Regions from separate parts of the Homo sapiens genome. Here region 2 is linked to region 1. The links are contacts of gene promoters, found by promoter capture Hi-C in blood cells and fetal thymus (Javierre and others, 2016). All regions are on one chromosome and are shown on one strand. The core of a region is centred on a gene start or on the middle of the fragment in contact, and the rest is flanking DNA. Distances in the headings are between cores, read along the strand shown.

Evidence for each region. Contacts are between HindIII fragments. The CHiCAGO score rates a contact against its expected background, and 5 or more counts as called.
Region 2: a fragment that was not itself captured here is called in contact with the fragment with the promoter of CTDSP2-AS1 in region 1 in 1 of 17 cell types (monocytes); the score reaches 5.7 in monocytes.

What each region holds. Positions count from the first base shown.
Region 1 is chr12:57,835,398-57,838,378 of GRCh38, forward strand. It overlaps CTDSP2-AS1 (CTDSP2 antisense RNA 1), which reads left to right and starts at 1,694. Exons shown (of 2, transcript NR_188077.1): 1 at 1,694-1,817. The region is part of intron 1 of CTDSP2 (CTD small phosphatase 2); the gene reads right to left. RefSeq lists enhancers at 1,924-1,993, 2,583-2,981, 2,784-2,893, 2,954-2,981. The HindIII fragment of the contact is 9,495 bases long and covers 1-2,981 here.
Region 2 is chr12:55,955,430-55,958,651 of GRCh38, forward strand. It overlaps PMEL (premelanosome protein), which reads right to left. Exons shown (of 11, transcript NM_001384361.1): 4 at 3,044-3,178; 5 at 2,494-2,655; 6 at 1,520-2,242; 7 at 674-790; 8 at 350-434; 9 at 35-240. Among named protein-coding and RNA genes, the nearest start is that of PMEL, 9.0 kb to the right of the region's middle. RefSeq lists an enhancer at 1,476-1,977. The HindIII fragment of the contact is 2,620 bases long and covers 448-3,067 here.

The DNA of each region.
Region 1 (2,981 bases), core at 444-2,943:
CCTCCTGCCTCATCCTCTCAAAGTGCTAGGATTACAGGCATGAGCCACCATGCCTGGCCCCCGTAGGAAATTCATTGCACATGGTTTCCCCAACCAGGGAGGGCAGGACTCCAGCGGATGCCATGTAGCCCAACTACGAGCTGCTCTCCCTCCTTCATTCCCTGCTACCCTCTGCGGACACCCAGCCCTCCTCTTCTGCCCAGATGCAGATGTGCTTCTGCTTTCTCTGCCCCAAACATTTGGTTTGGGGCTAGATGTCTGAGAGGACTAGCACAGACCCAATGAGGGAAGCAGCTCTGGCTTAAGAAGAAAGTGAGCTGGTGGCTGAAGACAGGGAAACCAGGCCAGCCATCCAGCTCACTGCTGCGAGTCTTCCTACTGAGGCGGGGTGTGAGGAGAAGAGGGGATGTGAGGAGTATGCCCCCACTGAGGATCATCAGGGCTGGGGTCCAGGCTCTGCCAGTTACTGACTCAGCCACACAGCCTTTTGGAGCCTTAGTTTCCTCATCCATAAACTGGGATAACAGCAAGCCCTCACTCAGGACTGAAAGGATAAACGAAGTTAGAGAGTAAGGCACTGTGCTAACTCTAAAGCTAAATGCTGCGCTTGTTTTAATTAATTATCCAAGGGGAGATGACCACTAAATGGCAACATCATGGGCCTCATTCCAGGAGGCCAGCAACAGACCAGGAGCCCTCCCACCATCATCACGTGGATGAAGCCCAAGAAGATGAGGGAAAGGTGCCTGAGAGCTCTGATCATGAGCAGGTTTCAGAAAGTCAAAATAGCCCCTATACCTTCTCCCAAGTCCACAACAAAATTTGTTTTCCAGCTCACAAACTCCCTGACTGGGTATTCTGTGAAAAACAAAAGCAAGTAAGACTGTTTCACTTGAGACAAAAATCGCTGTCTCCCCTGGTATTCATCCCCACTACTCTCAAGAAGTACCAGGTAAGGACACTATTTGCCCCTATGCATGGGCCGGGGTAGGTGGCTCAAGCCTGTAATCCCAGCACTTTGGGAAGCTGGGCCGGTTGGATCACTGCAGCTCAGGAGTTCAAGACCAGCCTGAGCAACATGGCAAAATCCTGTTCTACCAAAAAAAAATTAGCCAGGTGCACCTGCAGTCCCAGCTTGGCAGGCTGAAGTGGGAGAATCACCGGAGCCCAGGAGTTTGAGGCTGCGGTAAGCCGTGATTGCACCACTGCACTCCAGCCTGGGTGACAGAGTGAGATTTTGTCTTTAAAAAAAAAAAGTGTACATGTACAAACACGTGAACACGTGCACACATACACACAAACGAAGACCAGAGTGACCAGGGCAACACTGTTTTTAATCTTCTCCTGAAAGTCAGGTCCAGATACCACTTTTGTCAACAACACAGCTTTGTGTCCCAGCAAAGGAACTCCTCACACATCTGCCTGCGATTCAGCAGAAGGTAACCTCTGAGACAATCAGATTTTAACAAGCCCATTCAGGTAGAAAGTTGCTTTCTTTTTTGGTTCATCCCCAGAAGTACTTCCTTCCCCACCACCTCCCATCCCCCACAGCAAAGGACTTAGCCTTAGCCTGGCTATCACTATAAAATGGCCCCTCTGAGGGGCCTCCTTCCTCTCAGCTATTGGAGGAAGGAGAGTATTTGGAGCATTTCCGGCCCTTCTTGGACGGCTGCCTGAACCCTGCAGCCAAGACACATTTGACTGGGACTCCCCCATGGAGAGAAGTCCTCCCAGGTCCTCTGCAAGGGGCATCTGTTCCTTGGCTATGGACATGCCCTAAAGTGCCAGGTGGACGGAAGAGCTCCTGGGACCAGCAGGTGAGTCGGCAGGGAACAAAAGAGGGTGAGATGCCTAGACAGCCCCCACACACAAAAGACTGCAAACAATGGGGAGGGTGTACTGCTTTCATGCCTGGCCACTGACACTGTTCTCTACAGCTAACAAGCAAGGCAGGGCCGGACCCAGCTTAGCACCGGCTCCCGAAGTTCCAAAAAGTAGCTGTGTATCTAACTGCATGGGCATTTTTTGAAAAAAGCAGTTTTAACACTTTGGGGGGCAAAGGCAGTGGGGATCACTTAAGGTCAGAAGTTCGAGACCAGCATGACCAATATGGTGAAACCCCATCTTTACTAAAAATGCAAAAATTAGCAGGGTATGGTAGTGAGCTCCTGTAATCCCAGCTACTCCGGAGGCTGAGGCACGAGAATCACTTGAATCCAAGAGGTGGAGGTTGCAGTGAGCCGAGATCACACCATTGCACTCCAGCCTGGGGGACAGAGCAAAACTCTGTCTCAAAATAAATAAATAAATAAATAAAATTTAAAAAATTAAAAAGCAGTTTTAGCCATGCTGTTTGGCCCATACCAGCATGTTGTATGCTGGTGCCCTCTCTGCACCAGCAACTGGGGCAGCTCTACCTAAGCCAGTGTCTCCATTAGTTCCCTTTCCCTGGGCAGGAGAGCTCCCTATATGGCTGTCTCTTCTTTCAGACCTGAGTCCTTAATGCCACCTGTGGGGCGAGGGTCACAGGTCACACACTTTCTTGTCTCTGCCCCTTCAGCAATCTGTTCTCTGACCTCAGCTAGAGAGGTAAGAGGACTCAGTTTTGGGAGCAGGGGATTTCTGGCAGTTCTAAAGCACGCTGATTTCAGAATCAGCCTCTAAAGGAGGTATTGCCAAAACACCCTCCTGGGCAGCTCCAACGTACTTTAAAAACGTGCTGGGTTGGGGTGGGCCTCCATAAGTAGCAGATCCTGGACCAGAGACAGAGGAGGCGTTTCCTCATAGACAAGTCAGCTGCAGGCTCAGCCCTGCAAGCCCCACTCCAGAGGACTCTTGAGGGATGTCAGGAAGTGATCTAATAGCCCACAGGGCAGCAGGGACAAGCCTGAGATGCCATCCAAGAAAACTCAAAGGACTGGATCCTGCCCCTGCCTCAGCAGGAGACCCTGCCCTATGTAGCACCAGCCAGAGCAAAGGTA
Region 2 (3,222 bases), core at 508-3,007, 1.9 Mb before region 1:
CCTTCCTCATCTTAGCTCTTGTCCAAGGACCTACCAGGCATGATAAGCTGGGTGCTGACCACTGCCAGGCTGTTGGTATCAGCCAGAGACACATTGAGGCAGTATGTCCCCGAGCCACCCTTCAGTATCTGGTGCAGAACCAGCTGGCAGGCTGGGCTGGGTAGCACAGGCTGGCACAGCCGCTGGGCAGGGGGCTGGCACCCTGGCGATGAGATCTCCATGCAGGCTTCCTTGGGCAGCCTGGAAGAAGTGTCAGCATATATAAGGGGATCTGGGAAGGGACACTAAATGCCAGAGAGCGGAGAAACAGTCAACCAAAGAGTTACCAGCACACTAGTGAGACACTCACCCGCCTTGGCAGGACACAGTCAGCTCAAATGCATCCCCCTCACCGGACGGCACAGCCTGCAGGATCTCGGCACTTTCAATACCCTCTGCAGAGTTGCAAGCTTATCAAATTAGGATTCCTCTACCTGGCCTCCCCAAAAGCCCAGAGACAGAAAAGCCCCAGGGCTGCTCCACCAATCCCATCCCTGTGCTTTCAAATGAGGACTCTGGCATTTGGGTATTCTTCCTATCTAGGTGAGTAATTCCTCCCAAGGTGTGCTTCCACTGACCAGCCCTAGGTAGCACACAGCTGCCTCCATCAGCCACCAAAGTAGGCAAGACTCACGGACAATGTCCAGGGTGACGGAAAAGGAACCATATCGATACAGAACACAATCCAGGGGGACTTGTCTCTTCACCAGCCTTAAGGTGGCTGTACCATCCAGCAGGGGGCCCAGGGAACCTGGCAGGAGAGGATCAAGGAGGCAAGATCAAGAGACAGATGACTCATCTGGAGGCAGAGGCCAAGCAGGCATTTTTTCAGGTTGAACCAGAGTTACTGGATTCTGGAGTCACAGGCTTGGAATCAGATAAGACCTGGGAAACCTTATTCTATAGATAAGGAAACTGAGGCCCAGAAGAAGAAAATGACTCCTCCAGAGTCACAGTTAGGGGTGGCATTGGAGTTTTAAAAAATCCTCAAATGTTTATCACACCCCACACTATGTCAGGTCCTAGGCTAGACATTCAACGTGTGTTAACTCATTTAAGCATCACTGTTTCATTCCTCCCTTTTTGCTTTGGGATGGGAATCCAGGGTTGGGAAATGGAAGGATCAGGATCTCGGAATCTGGGAAGGATTTTCGTGCATTTATGCTTGAACAGAAAATGAGCTATAAATATTATATAAATGATCACAGTCTGTTCCCTGGTCTCGCCAACCGTTCTCAGCAGTAGAGAAAGCAACAAGCTCTTTCCTCATGGCCTAGGGGAAGACCTTGGTTTCCTGAACTCCAGACCTATTCCATGTCATTAAGAGAGACTGGAGGGCTTTATAGCCAGGCCAGTGAGAACTCTGAGGGGACCATAGTGCTAAGCAAAGGATTGGGTAACATCTGAGTCCTGGGTAAGACTTACAGAGTAGAGTAGGGTACCCCACCTCCGTGAACCTCATTCGCACTGATACTCTTACCTGTAATACTTTCCGTAGACATGATTGAGCTGGCATCTGGACCTTCAGGCTCAGGGATAGGTAGCTCTCTAGCTGTGGTCTCCACCCACTCTGTAGTTGTTACCTGTGCAGCTGTGGTTCCAGAAAGCACCACAATTGATACCTCTGCAGGTGTCATACCTGTAGCCTCTGGAGTTGACATCTCTGCCAGTGTGGTACCCATGACCTCTGAAACTGGCACCTTCTCAGGTGTCATACCTGTGCTCTCTGCAGTTGGCATCTGCACAGGTGCAGTGCTTATGACTTCAGTGGTTGGCACCTGCACAGATGTGGTTCCAGAGGGCTCTGCAGTTGGCGCCTGACCAGGTGTAGTACCCACAACTTCTGTAGTAGGCACTTGGCCAGCTGTGGTGTTAGGGGCCTCTGCAGTTGGCCTGTGCCCATCTGTGGTGCCTGGAACTGGGGAGGAGCCACAGGAGGTGAGAGGAATGGCAGCCTGCAGGACCACCTGGGCAGTGACTGGGCCAGGCTCCAGGTAAGTATGAGTGACCACAAGTGCCCGAGAGATCAGGGTTCCACTACTGTCTCCAAAGTCCCAGGTGTAGGAGAGGTCAGCTTCAGCCAGATAGCCACTGGGGTCATGGAGCTGGAGGGCAAAGGTCAGAGGCTGATTTCTCAGGAAGTGCTTGTTCCCTCCATCCAAGGCCCGCAACTGGGACACGCTCACGGAGAAAGGCACCTGGTCTGGGATTGGAGCCAGAAAAGGTGAGAACCAGGCCTGAGCCACAGCTTCTCCTTTCACAGCCACACCCTCCAACTCCAAGCTGACTGGCTGGCCCTTCACTGGCACTAAGCCTCACATTTCTCTGCCTAGGTCTTCCTGGCCCTTCTACTTTAAGTTTGCACAGCATTTCACCTTTCTCCTTTCCAGTCCATCCAAGCCTCCCTGCCTTCTCTTGCCCTACAACTGGCCTTGCCCCTTCCTAAACCCTTACCAGTAATGGTGAAGGCTGAGCTGGAATGAGCAAGAGGCACATAGCTCCGGGATCCCCGGCGATGGTAGACAGTCACTTCCATGGTGTGTGTGCCCAGCATTGCCCTGCCTGTCCCAATGCTCAGCCCAGACACTGGGCCCCCTAGAACTTGCCAGTATTGGCCTGAAGTTTTTGGAATGAAAAGCAAGGAAGAAGAGATTACTGGTCAAAGGGGACTGAGGGACAGGCTTCGAAACGGCACTGGAGATGGGAGGTCAGGAAGTATGATTACTTCTGAGGGTGTTTGGAAGGCTGTGATATGGGGGGACAGGGAAGGGGTCCTAATGAGGCATTCCATGGGGTAGGACTACAATTGAGGAAGAGTTGCCAGAAAGAATTATGATAGAGTTGAAGGGGGCTAGGTGCTAAGAAAGAGAAAAGATCTAAGAGGAAAATGAAGATTAGAGAAAATCACAGAAGTTAAGGTGGAAGGGGCGGCCAAAAGAAAGGTGATCAGGTAGAAAGAAGTAAACACAAGTGTGGATGATAGGCTGAGAAGGGAGTCCCTCACCCCAGGTCTTCCAGACATAAACAAAGCTTCTCTTCTGAGACCAAGAGCCAGATGGGCAAGGTCCACCATCAGGGAAGATGCAGGCATCGTCAGTTTCCTGGGGATACACTGGCTGTCCTCCCCACACCTGGCTCCCTGAAAGATAAATACAGAGTCACTCTCAAACCCTGGCATTCTTT